2 separate regions of the Homo sapiens genome follow, and region 1 is linked to region 2. Evidence: promoter capture Hi-C in 16 types of primary human blood cells and fetal thymus (Javierre and others, 2016). All regions are on one chromosome and are shown on one strand. Each heading gives the region's core, a stretch centred on a gene start or on the middle of the fragment in contact. The rest is flanking DNA. Distances are from core to core; before and after follow the strand shown.

The links. Contacts are between HindIII fragments. The CHiCAGO score rates a contact against its expected background, and 5 or more counts as called.
Region 1: a fragment that was not itself captured here is called in contact with the fragment with the promoter of LINC03033 in region 2 in 1 of 17 cell types (neutrophils); the score reaches 5.4 in neutrophils.

What each region holds. Positions count from the first base shown.
Region 1 is chr14:60,237,560-60,243,885 of GRCh38, reverse strand. LOC101927702 (a long non-coding RNA gene) reads left to right here. Exons shown (of 3, transcript NR_188027.1): 2 at 1,016-1,123; 3 at 3,432-3,760. Among named protein-coding and RNA genes, the nearest start is that of PPM1A, 8.5 kb to the left of the region's middle. The HindIII fragment of the contact is 370 bases long and covers 2,188-2,557 here.
Region 2 is chr14:61,567,634-61,574,517 of GRCh38, reverse strand. It overlaps LINC03033 (long intergenic non-protein coding RNA 3033), which reads right to left and starts at 3,978. Exons shown (of 3, transcript NR_039985.1): 1 at 3,758-3,978. LINC01303 (long intergenic non-protein coding RNA 1303) reads left to right here and starts at 3,865. Exons shown (of 5, transcript NR_110416.1): 1 at 3,865-4,032; 2 at 4,841-4,974. RefSeq lists silencers at 4,688-4,880, 5,621-5,780, 5,861-5,930 and enhancers at 5,272-5,771, 5,772-6,273. The HindIII fragment of the contact is 753 bases long and covers 3,559-4,311 here.

The DNA.
Region 1 (6,326 bases), core at 1,123-3,622, 1.3 Mb after region 2:
GCAGTGTCTCATGCCTATATTCCCAGCACTTTGGGAGGCTGAGGTGGGTGGATCACCTGAGATCAGGAGTTTGAGATCAGCCTGGCCAACATGGTGAAACCCCGTCTCTACTAAAAATACAAAAATTAGCCAGGTGTGGTGTCGGGAGCCTGTAATCCTAGCTACTTGGGAGGCTGAGGCAGGAGAATTGCTTGAACCCAGGAGGCAGAGGTTGCAGTGAGCTGAGATTGCGCCATTGCACTCCAGCCTGGGTGACAAGGTGAGACTCCATCTCAAAAATCAATCAATAAATAAATATAAAAATAGAAATAAAAATTAAGTTAGATAAACTTCCAATGAAATAAATTTTAAACAAAGGTAGTATGTGATAAAAACATCACTTCCAAATTATGTTAATACATTTTAATATTGTCTTTGTTCTTTAGGCAATTTACATGCATTGTGTCTGCATGGTGGAAATTCCCTATATGTAATTGTACATCTCTTCCCAATACCACATTTAGTGAGTTTTCTTTGGTAGCTTGATCAGCGGACACCACAGATGAGGGCTTCACTTATTGCTTTGCTGGTTGTGGGCTAGACCAGGGTTGTCCAATCTTTTGCTTCCCTCGGCCACATTGGCAGAAGAAAAATAGTCTTGGGCCACACATAAAATACGCTAACACTAATGATAGCTGATGAGCTAATACAAAACAAAACGAAACAAAATCACACACACACACAAAATCTCACATTTTAAGAAAGTTTACGAATTTGTGTTGGGCTGCATTCAAAGCCATCCTGGGCTGTATGCGGCCCACAGGCCCAGGGTTGGACAAGCTTGGTCTAGGCTTAAGTGACAGAGAAAATGTTTTATGCAGATTAAATGTAAAAGACATGTCGTGTCTATAACTGTTACATGGTGAATAGCATAAAAACATTCAATTTAGCAATGAAGTCACATCATTGACTAATAAGCTCTAACATACATTTTTGTTGTTTTATTTTTATCTTAAATGAAAATATTAACCAATAGCCATGTTGGAACTACATTTGGAAAGGTGGTTGTTAAACATTTCCCAGCACACACCTGGATCTGCATCTGCTGTGTCAATTGAACCACTCACTGGTTCTGTGACCTCAGGCAAGTCATTTAAATTATAAGCCTTGGTTTTATCCTCCACAGAATACTTCCTCCTAAAATGTGTTGTGAAAATTAGAATAGATGAAGGCACCCTTGAAAAGATGACTGATGCGGTTGGTTGCCCCACCACTTCCTACTACTTGGCAGAGCCTCCTCGTTGGCAGATCCTTCTCTCACTAGAGCATGTATATGGATGCATGCTCTCTCACCCTCCCTTGTAGCTTAGAGCAGAGCATACCAATCTATGTGCCAGCATACCCTGGTATGTCTCAGATGGGTCATAGATGTGATAAGGTATGGATCCCTTAAGCCCTTGGGACATTCAAGTGAGGCTGAGCTGCTGAAGCCCTGGGATGGTATGACTGGCCACAAGCAACATTACCCAGGTACCCCTCTGTGTCACAAAAACGTTATCTTTGTATTTGTGTCATGGTGTGAAAAAATTGAGAAGCACTGCCTGGGGACATAGTGAGGTAGCCCAATTCTGGATAAAGGAAATTGAGAAGTCTTGAGGGGGTAGAGAGGTTTTCTTCCCTAATAAGAAGAATCACAGGAGAGAAAATGCCTTCCTCAGCCATATGTTGTTATTTCTATATGTGAGCCTGGAATTTCAAGGTTATCTTGCAAAGAACCAAGGCAATGTAGAGAAAAGAATTGATAGCAAGTGGCTGGATCTTTCACATTGTAAAGCCATTGAGCCATCCGTGCAATTGCCCACCTTGGGAATTTATTTTTAAGAGTGATAATAAATGCTCCTCATTGTTTAAACTACTTTGATTTTTGTATTTGGTTATTCATAATTAAAAACACCCAAATACAGTAGAAGAACTGGTACATCCCTGACACCTAATGAGTGCTCAATATGGTTAGTTAATCACCAAATTAGATCCTTTGCCTTTAGAAAAGCTGCCATGGTCAAATGTGTGTTGATCTTATTTTTCGTAAATATTTAAGAAATTTGTTCAGTAACTAGCTTAACTTTTAATATTTATCTTGAGTCTCTTCTAAATATGTTTTTACTGTATAATAAAAGCAATAATTGAAAAATGACATCATTTTAAGCTTGAGAGCAACTAGATACAAAGATGTTGATATGCATTTTCTCTTCTTGAAGGATCTAGACAAACTGGAGCACCATTACATGAAAAAGGTTAAAGAATCAATGTTTTGCAAAATAGAACTGGAATTAATTCATGGGAATTACAGAGAAGATCATATTAGTTCAATATAAAAAGAGGGCCTAGAATGTGCCAAGCTCCATACAATGCCCCTCATGAGTGTTATTTAATTCTCACAACAACTTTGCAAAAAAGAAACTATTTTTTTTTCCATTTTACAAAGGAGGAAGCTAAGGCTGTGAAAAAGAGCTCTTTTGCAAGCCTAGGACCTGATTCCAAAATTCCCACTCTTTCTGTTGCAAATTCTGGCTAAGCTTTCCAGAGATGACTTGCTTTCCCCTTGAGGCCCTTTCAGTGCATTGTGCCATGGAAAACAAAAAGCCCAACAATGACATCTTTACCAAAGATGCCTTGGGGAGATGGGAGAAGAGTTACAATGCACATTACACAGCAAAATCTTTTTTAAGCTCCAAGTAAAATTGGTTTTTTCTTAGAGTTTTGCTTCCAGCAGTCACTTCCTCCATTCTCCTGCTCTCTCCACGTGAGGAAAACTTCTATCCTGCCTTCTCCTAATACACTTTCCTGTTTTTTTTTTCCTGCACATTTCTTAAAAATCCCACATAAGGCAAAAGCCAAGACAATATCCATCAACACCTCCACCCCCACCGCATGTCCATGGAGAGCTTCAAGTCATCCTGCCGCTGGTACAAACACGGCAGAGGCCTCTTTGTAAAGAAGTGGTAGGTAGAATTCAGGTTAGCACCAGAATCTGAAAACTCCAGCTCCTTTGACTGGGACCAGGCTGGTAATATAAATGTTAGATCAGGCTGGGTCTGACACAATGGGGATCAGTAGAGCATACTTGTCACATTTGAAGGCATTCAGAAAAATAATAACCTTAAAACATTCTAAACATGTTGCAATCAAAGAGGATACCCCTTGACCACTGCACGAATTGGAGTTCAAAGATCATCTCTCTTTTGCCTAGGCTGTAGACTAGTTATTTAACCTCTCTCAGACTTGGTTTCCTCTTCTGGAACAGGGTATATCAACTACCTTGCAGAAATAAATGACATCCTGTACACAATGCACCTACCACGTTGCCTGACCCAATAATGTGTACATACATAAGAAAATGTTCATGCCCTTTGCTCACTTTAAAATTTTTTTTTCTTGTATATTTGTTTAAGTTCTTCGTAGACTCTGGAATGGAGCTGGAAGCTGTCATCCTCAGCACACTAACGCAGGAACAGAAAACCAAGCACTGCATGTTCCCACTTATAAGTGAGAGCTGAACGAGCAGAACACATGGACATATGAAGGGGAACAACACACTCTGGGGCCTGTGAGGTGCAGGGAGAGCATCAAGAAGAACAGCTAATGGGTGCTGGGCTTAATACCTGGGTGATGGGTTGATCTGTGCGGCAAACCACCATGGCACACATTTACCTATGTAACAAACCTTGACATCCTGCACATGTACCCCGGAACTTAAAAATAAAAGTTGACAAAAAGAAAACATAACTTACTTTTAAGCACATAGTGTGTGTGTGTGTATATATATATGTATATATGTATATATAAGTATATATGTATATATGTATATATAAGTATATATGTATATATGTATATGTGTATATACATGTATATATATGTATACATATATGTGTGTATATATATATATATATTTAGATGGAGTCTCCCTCTGTCACCAGGCTGGAGTGCAGTGGCACGATTTCGGCTCACTGCAACCTCCACCTCTCGGGTTCAAGCGATTCTCCTGCCTCAGCCTCCCCAGTAGCTGGGATTACAGGCGCCCACCACCACGCCCCGGCTACTTTTTGTATTTTTTGTAGTAGAGACGGGGTTTCACTATGTTGGCCAGGATGGTCTCAATCTCCTGACCTCCACCCGCCTTGGCCTCCCAAAATGTTGGGATTACAGACGTGAGCCACTGCACCTGGCCCATGTATTTTTAATAATACATTGTAAATGATTTGACATTATCCATCCCATATTTTATATGGGCTTAGTTATAGATTCACTCTAGAATTGCTGGTTATAGGGCAAAAATCATTCTTTTCAAGACTTGTTTTAACTTCTAGTCCTTCAGCTTTGTGAATGGAACATGTACGTATGACCTACAAGGGATCAAGGGAAGACAAGGATCCTCTGCTGGAAAGATCTGCCTCCCTTACCATTGCTGGACCCCTTTTGTGTGAGTTTTCTCCTTCATGCCATCTGTACCAAAGGTGACCATTTGGTTCTGAATCCAAACTCTAGATTGTTCTTCTTATAGTGCTTCAAAAGAAAGACTGCAAGCCCTATTTCTATATTTTATATAGTATTTGTAATTTTATGTTATAGAACTTGAGTCACCATGTATTTCATTCATTCAGTAGATGTTGAGCCTCCGGAATATGCCAGGCACAGCTGTAGATGAGGGAGATACTGTGAAGAGAGGCAGCGTTCATGGTGTTTACCCGAGGTCAACAGAAAACAAACAAGGTCAATGCAGAGAGGGATAAGTACTGTAAAGAATGCAGAGCAGAGTATGACATGGGCAGGCAAGGTGACAGAGGGGCTGAAGGAGAGGTTACTTTAGATGCTCAGGGAAATCCTATGAGAGAAGGTGGCACCTGGGCAGACCTGACTGACAGGAAGAAGCCACCTTAGAAGATCTGGGGGAAGAATGTCCCAGGAAAGGGCAGAAGCCCTGGGGTGGAAGCGAGCTGGGCATGTCCATGGAAGACAATTCTGAGATGTCTCGGCATGCTGAGGGAAGGAGAGTATGATATAGGCAGGGTGCCTATAGGCCACAGTAAGGATTTTTAAGAATTTTATTCTAAGTGTGATGGAAAACCACTGGCGGTTTTTATGCAGAGTAATGACACGATCCGATCTATGTATTGCTCTTGCTGCACTTTAGAGAAGAGATTTTAGGAAAGCAAAAGTGGAGGCAGAAAAATCCTTTCATGTCAGTTTAATATATCCTTAAAGAGAAGGTGAAATTTGCTTTCAGCTTTAAATGACACAGAGAGATTACATTCTGGTGGTAGGAATGTGGTCTTTTACAGAGCTTTTGTTACCGGGGTTCATGTTTCCATTTTCTGGAAACTATTAATATATATGGATATTTTTGCCAGTAACTCAAGTAACCTTGCTTGGTAAATTTCATAAAATGTTGCAAGAAGTATCTTGTGGGAAGGCCAGGTTAAGTGTAGGTAAAATAAAAGCTCACTTAAGTGGTTCGATTTCAGGTCAATACTTGTTACCCCCAAAATAGTCTACAAGAACCTCTCAGTACTCTCCCAAACACATCTGAAGTCTGAAGACTAATATTCTATAAATTAATTTATGCCTTGTGCTATCCAGTGAGGATGATAATTAAGGTGGCTTTACCTAAGGCAGTTATTTTCATCTTGATATGAAAGTCTCAAGATCCTTTGCAGAGACAAGTTTTAATACTTGGGAAGCAAGCTGCTTTGACATGTATTGATGAGATAGGGTAAAATAAATTAAGAAAGGATTTAGTAAAGACCTCAATAATGCCAAGGATGAATTCAACTTCTTACATACTGTATTCAGATTTGTTCTTGCTCATGGACCTATGAAACAAATACATACACTTCATATGTTGAGTCTTTGTTGCTATTAGATCTTTTTTTTTTTTTTTTTGAGATGGAATCTTGCTGTTGTCAGCCTGGGCTGGAGTGGAATGGCATGATCTTGGCTCACTGCCACCTCTGCCTCCTGGGTTCCAGCGATTCTCCTGCTTCAGCCTCCAGAGTAGCTGAGATTATAGGCGCCCACCACCACGCCCTGCTAATTTTTTTGTATTTTTAGTAGAGACGTGGTTTCACCGTGTAGGCCATGCTGGCCTCGAACTCCTGACGTCAGGTGATCCACCCGCCTTGGTCTCCCAAAGTAGTGGGATTACAGGCATGAGCCACTGCTCCCAGCCTAGATTTTCTTTATTTCATTTAATGGTCTTAGTCTGGGTTCTCTAGAGGGACAGAACTAATGGAATAGATATACACATAAAGGGGAGTTTATTAAGTATTAACTCACATGATCACAAAGTC
Region 2 (6,884 bases), core at 2,729-5,228:
CTGCCTCTCTTCTGGGGAGCCACCCCAAAAACCCTGTGTGCCTTGCCACCTCACCTGATGGAAGTAGAATGCTACCTCTGGCACAAGGGCCATTTCTATTTTCATGGCATTAGCGGGGCCTGAAACATCCATGCTCAGAAGCTGTCAAATAACACCAGTTTTTTTTCAGCAGCTTGTCTGAGCACTCCTGGAATTCCTTTAAAATACAGAAGGATGAGTAATCCTGGTTCTCATTTCTGCAGAGAGGGCTGGGAAAGGCCCAGGCACAACCTGCCAATGTTGCAAAATTCGTAAAGCAAATCAAGTGAACAAACCTCTCCTTTTCAGATCAAAACCTGTTAAGGATTGAGGTGTCTTTTTGGCAACCCAGGGGTTATTCATATGCCTGTTTCAACTGCTCCAGTAGCTTCAGGAAATAGCAAGGTGGAGCAGCCCACAAGAAAGCCAGCATCATCCTCAAAGGATGCTCACCGCTACGAAAGAAGCAACTTGGCTAAAAACGCTTTTCAAGTAAGGAATCATTTCCCCCTCAAAGAGAGTTTCTGATCACCCCAGAAAATGATCGTGGGAACTTCTGAGTCATAGAATAAACATGAATATCAAAGAATAAGTTTACATATTTTGGGAACATGGAACACTTTCTTTTTCTAAGCCTCTGACAGCATTCCTGAGAAGTGCATCTGCCTTGAGTTCAGGGAACTGAAAATCTGTCCTTGGTTTGGCAGCTGACTAGCTCATTGACCTTGGGTTAATCATTTAACTTGGGATCGGCAATTCATAGTCAAAACCATGATTATTGTGATCCAAGAGAAGTCAGCCTGCCTGGGCATGGGGACCCAAAGGTTATAATTTTAAGGATTTCTTCCTTGGGAGTGGAGGCAAAATGCTGATAGTAATAGAGTGGCCCAGATTCAAATGCCTGAACGGTGAGTTTTACCAGGGCCCCCACGCCATTCAGTAAGCTCTCTGGGATTTTCAGTGGGCCTGGGGAGGTATAACTCACTTTGGCTCAGAGCTCTGAAAGCAGAACTTGGGTGGTTTATTAGAATATACAATGGAAGAGTTGGATGAGACCTGAGTAATGATGTTTTTGTTCACCGCTTGTCTCATCAGAGCAATCTTCTGGACACATAAATTTAATGTTCTCATCCTCTGCTTAAAACAGCCTTCCACTGTTCCAAAATAAAAGCCAAAGTCTTCAAAACTGTGTGCACATGTGATCCAGCCCCTGCCTACCTCTTTATATCTTGGTTTTCCTCGTCCCCTTTAATCCAGCCACAAGGACTTTACTCCAGTTCCTCCAATGAACTAACTCTTTGTATCCTGGGCACTCTCTAACCCCTCTTCACTTTTTTTTTTTTTTTTTTTTGAGACAGAGTCTCACTCTGTCGCCTAGGCTGGAGTGCAGTGGTGCGATCTTGGCTCACCGAAACCTCCGCCTCCTGGGTTCAAGCAGTTCTCCTGCCTCAGCCTCCCAAGTAGCTGGGATTACAGGCACCCTGCCACCACACCCAGCTAATTTTTCTGTATTTTTAGTAGACATGATGTTTCACCATGTTGGCCAGGATGGTTTCGAACTCTTGACCTCAAGTGATCCATCTGCCTCGGCCTCCCAAAGTGCTAAGATTACAGGTGTGAGCCACTGCACCTGGCCCCCTCTGTACTTTTTAATTTTTATTCTTCTTTCAACGCTCAGCTCAAATGTCACTTCCCCTAAGAAGCGTTCCCTGAGGCTTCCCCTCCCCATACACGTTAGATCAGATAAAGCTCTTGTAATATTCTTGTAGAACATCCTATTCTTTTGCTTCAGGGCCTTTATCACAATTGATAATTATATACTTACTTTTACTTATTGAATTAATTCCCAGTCTCTCTCAGTAGATTACATGCAGTGTCTGTTTCACTTGCCATTGTATCTCTAATGCCTACTACAAGTGCCTGGCATGTAGCAGACACAACTGCTTGTGAATGAATGAATGGTCTCAGTGATTCTGTAAGGATGAAGGTGATGTAGAGTAGTAGATGGCAGCTCTACTCTGGAAGTCCAGAATACTGCTCTGATTCACACCTGCAAGCCTTATTGGTCAATGACTACTGATATTCCAGCCACCCAAACAACTGCTTTCGGAGAAGCATTAATACCTGCGAATAAAACAAATCTATTCGTTTCATACATTTGGTTCAGAACACTAGGAGAATTTGAGAAGAGACGAGCCAGCCCCAAGCTGTCCTTGTTTCTTTTATTAAGAATAGGCCATGATTTGAGCACATTCTACTACTTGCCTCACTTCAGCCTATTGATGGGGGAAAAGTGAGAGTCTGTGTGTGGGGACTCTGGCTTGGCAGTGAGATCTAACACAGAAAGATCCTGAAGAAATATGCTGACAATGGGGTTTTATCTCTTCAATGCACTGGAGACAAAATCCCTGCTTTTAAAAACAACACTCATACAGAGCCAAGGATGTCCCAGAGTGAACAGTCCTAACCCTTTCTCAGCCTGCCTAAGAGCTCGTTGGTTTCAGAAGGATGAGCCAAGGACTGCTACTTAGAGACTACTGTCTAGGTCAACCCAACTGGCATAAGTAAAGCACCTACTGTTTATAGTAGGAGGCTGCAAGATAACAGGAGATGCAGACTATTGAAGGCTACTGATCTATCTGTGTAGACAGGCAAGAATAAAACAACTGGAGAAGAAATCCAGGATTACACAAAAAGAAGAGCGTGATGGTATGGTAGACTACTCCAGAACAGTGAATTTCCCCTGCATTAAGGATGAGATCCCTATGAATTGGGATCATTCAGGAAGTCTTCTTGGAGAAGAAAAGTTTGAGCATATGGGGAAAAAAAGTTGGATTGGCAAAGAGCTGAGCTGTCAGTAGCTGGGTCCTTAGTAAGTAGGCTGCATGGAGCTGGGAGTTATGCTAAAGGAGTTGTAATTTGGGATGCCTCTAATTAACCATTTTGGGAAAAATATAATAAATCCCTTTGTAGCATCTATAATAAACTGCCCAATATCTATGTGGTGGGGAAAAAGTTTTATTCTACGTTTCACGTGGATGGTGATAACACTAGGTAATCTCAGCATCTTTCTTATTCTCTTGCTAATCCAGGATTCTAAGTAATAATCACTTTGTTCTACAACCTGAATCTAGCCCTTGTACTGTGCAGTTTTTTTCTACACTTATTTTTCCTGTTGTCTGAATCAATCTCCATGGAAGCATAAGTTTTACTGAGTTTCAACCAGCTGTGTCCACCGAGGTAAAGATGGTAAAAATAAAAGGCACAGGGCATATATACCACAGCAGCAGTTACTTCCCACAAGGAACCAGAGATTGGAAGTGAAGCTAAAACATTTTCAGCTACGATAGCATCTCTTTCAAGGTGAGCCATTTCCCCAGGGAGAGTTTCCAGCTCTTAGCAAAGGCAGAACAATAAAACATCAAGGATGTCTTTCTAAGGCTGCAAACAGAATAGCCAATACCTTGAAGCTGATCTGCTTCAGAGTCCTTTAAAAGCCAGGACAGCAACAAAGTGCCCACATTACATTTTCTACAAGCTTGCTAAGCATCTCTTTTCCTAAACCACAAAACCCGAGACATTTCTACAGAACAGGCAGAAAGGGAAGTCCTGGGAGATCAGGGCCCTGTCTCAGCAGGCATCACTCCAGCCTGTCTTTTCCCGAGTGGTTTTCTGCACTTCTCTTCCATCTTTTCCCCTCTGTCCCACACTGGAAGTCACTAGTCTGTGCCCTCCTTACCTCCCATGGTTTCTGCACCTTCATTTCCAAAGGCAAGTGAAAACAGTGCCAGGCTGCGCACATGGGTTACTCCAGGGACTTCTCTTCCCGTTTCCCCTAAAGCATTTGACAGTTAGATCTTGGAACTGAGTCCAGCAGCACTGAGGTCAGAGAGATGGCTAAAGCTAAAAGCAAACTGGATGCTGTTCAGGAGGTTCTCCTTTGTCATTTTTATCTCCAAATAGAAGACCTCTGTTTTCCCAGAAGATTAAATAGTAGAAAAGAAGTAGCCCAAGGTGGGTGACTCTGCAAACAGGTGGGTGAGGTCTCTAGTTGAGTGAGGGGGTGTCTGTGGGTTGTGGGTTCTTCTTATGAGCAGAGCTTGGAGGAATTTGTTCTATTTGTTGTGGTTTTCCCAGGGGGAAGTCGGGGGTGGCTGGGACTCTAATGATCATTATCAGAAGACTTTGGATTAGGCCTCTGAAACTTTAAGATGTGGATCCTCTCGCAATCATGTTAAAATGCAGATCTCCTTTCAATAGGTCTGGGACAGAGCCTGGCTTTTCTATAAAGCTTCTGGTGATGGGATGTCGCTGGTTCTCAGCCACAATTTGAGTAGCAAGAGGTTAGCTTTTCTACTTACTGCCTTCATATCCCCAGTTGGGCTATGTCGTTTTATCAAAACAATGTGGTAAGAGTGAGCGCCAATTACTAGCCTGTTGAATCATCCATTGTTAGAGCTGTTTCTTTGAGGTACATTTAAGAGGCCCCTCCCTGTGGTTCCCCATTGCACAAGAAGCCCATTTGCCAGGCAATACCTTGGGCAAGCAAGCCACTGTGCAAAATTGCATTGGCTCTTCCTGCTGCCAGCCAGGCGGCTGCTGGTTGACGTTGGAGTTGTACAGTTTATGTGATAGTGATGACAGCGCTGGCTCTGAAGGGTACTGAAGATTTTGAAGGGGTACTTCGCTGCAGCAGCTTCACCTCTCACTTTTGTTTACCCACCCCCGAGGCTTGTGGGAGAGAAGGATCAGGCAGAGCTCTGCACGTGCCATGCCAGGGGTGGAGGAATTATATTTTTATTTTTTGCTTTCTCTGCTACAGGACATACCATGCCTTTTACAGATATTTATAGGACAATTTCCCTCCTGAGAGTGCCCAAGCATGGGGGATGGTGAGGAAGATGACTGAAGGAGAAAGCAGGAAAAGGGGGTGTCTGCATGTATGAGGATTGGAAGGTGGGGAAAACCCTTCGTGTTTGGTTCAGCCTTCAAGAAAGAGGAGGGGTTGACTAGATTACAGATGTTAAACCAGGGGTCTGTGGTTCAAACCAGCAACTCTCTGCCCTTGTAAGCTGTATCTGGCTGGTGTGTTAATTTGTCTAGGGTAAGAGCCCCTAGGTTTCAACAGATTGTCCTAGAGTCAATGATACACAAAAGGTTAATCAGCCTCATTTCCAATCAGGATCATCTGCAAGTCCCTCCCAGAGCAGATATTTGGAGCACTAGGCTTCTAGAAGCAGCAGACATCAAGTTCGGGCCATGGGATTAGGGTGGACAGGGCAGCCACTTGGAATCATTTTCTACCAGAGGCAGAAGAGGCTCAGCTAGCAACAGCCCCATTTTACAGAGCAGAAGCCGAGCTGCAGTCAATTCAGTGATTCCTCCTAAAGTAGGGAGTCAGAAGCCGAGCCTGGACTGGAACCTCGGCCTCCTAGCACACAGAGCACAGGTCTACATTGGGGAAAAGCCCCTTCAATCTGGCAGTTGCCTGGAAAGCGCAAGACATTTGCGGCCAGAGCGCCAGGAGCCCAGCTGGTTATTTCTAGCTTCCTGAATGTCAAAAATACAGGCCGCTTCTCAAAGCAGCCTCCACTTGTCAGACCAAATCAAGGCATCAGCGCGTCAAGCAGGCGAATCCTCTGCCCCAGGCACCAGCCTGGGGGCGCACGCCCTGCCTCCGCCCCGCCCCACACGGCGCACCTGACCGGTTCCCGCGGTGCGCCTAACCGCGGGCGGGCGAGCGCTGCACCCACGCACCCGGGCGTCGCTCCCACCTGCACCCCGGCGTCACGCCTGAGCGCAATCTGCAGCCTTCACCCACCTGGGCGGCTGCCTGGCTTTGTTTAGAGTTGGAGTCAGCCCGGCAGCCTGCCTTGGCCGAGTGTGACTAGGGAGCTGGTCTCTGACCCTAGCGGCAGATTGGGCAGGACACACTGCCTTCTCTCTGGTCTCTTTTGGAATCTCCCACTTTCACCTGCTTTTCTTCTTAGCAAAACTGCCACCCCTGCCCCTACCCCAATTCCTCGATAGATCTAAATCAACGGGCTTGTTTGTGCCTCTGCAGAACCAATCCAGTTTTACAGGAACAAAAACAAACCCCAGTCCTGAGCGTCTGTTGGTTTCCCGTCCCAACTTCTGTTCATTCAACAAACATGGGAGCATCTACTGGCTAGGCTTTGGACACAACAGACTGAACTCTACCCCAGGGAACTGGCAGCCCCCAGGGGAAAAGAGAAGCGGATGTTTTTAGGCTGTAATTTAACGGTCGCAGGAGAGTTTGCTAGGGAACATGGGGGCAGGGAATGAGCATTGCAGGCAGAGAGGACAGGCTGGTGAAAGAACACCGCAGGCGGTAGGATCTGCAGGAAGGCAGGGTGGCCGGTGGGCACAGAGAGATGAGGGCAAGTAGCAGTGATGGGCTGAGGAGGAGCCAGGACTCAGCCAGAGAAAGGAGAATTGACTTCATCCTGAGAACAATGCAGGGCCTTGGAAGGTTTAAACAGGGAAGTGACCAATCCAATTTGCTTTCTTAGTGGGACTGGAGAGCGCAAGGCCTGTCAGTCCCAGCACAGGGGCAGCAAGCGGCAGCACCGCTGAAAGTAGCAGCATTTTCAAGGACAGGGGTCATGTTCTCCCACTTGGGGATCAAATTACCTAAGTTTTCTTCTATTTCCACCCCCACGCTGCTGCCTTATTCCTATCCCTGGCCCCACTGTGACTGGTTTGGCCTTCTGCCTCCATTGGCCCTTGCCTAGCCTTTAGGTAAAATGCTAGGTTGACCAGGTGTCCAGAAAAAAAAAAGAATGGATAAAGAAAATATGGTGTGTGTGTGTGTGTGTGTGTGTGTGTGTGTGTGTGTGTATTTA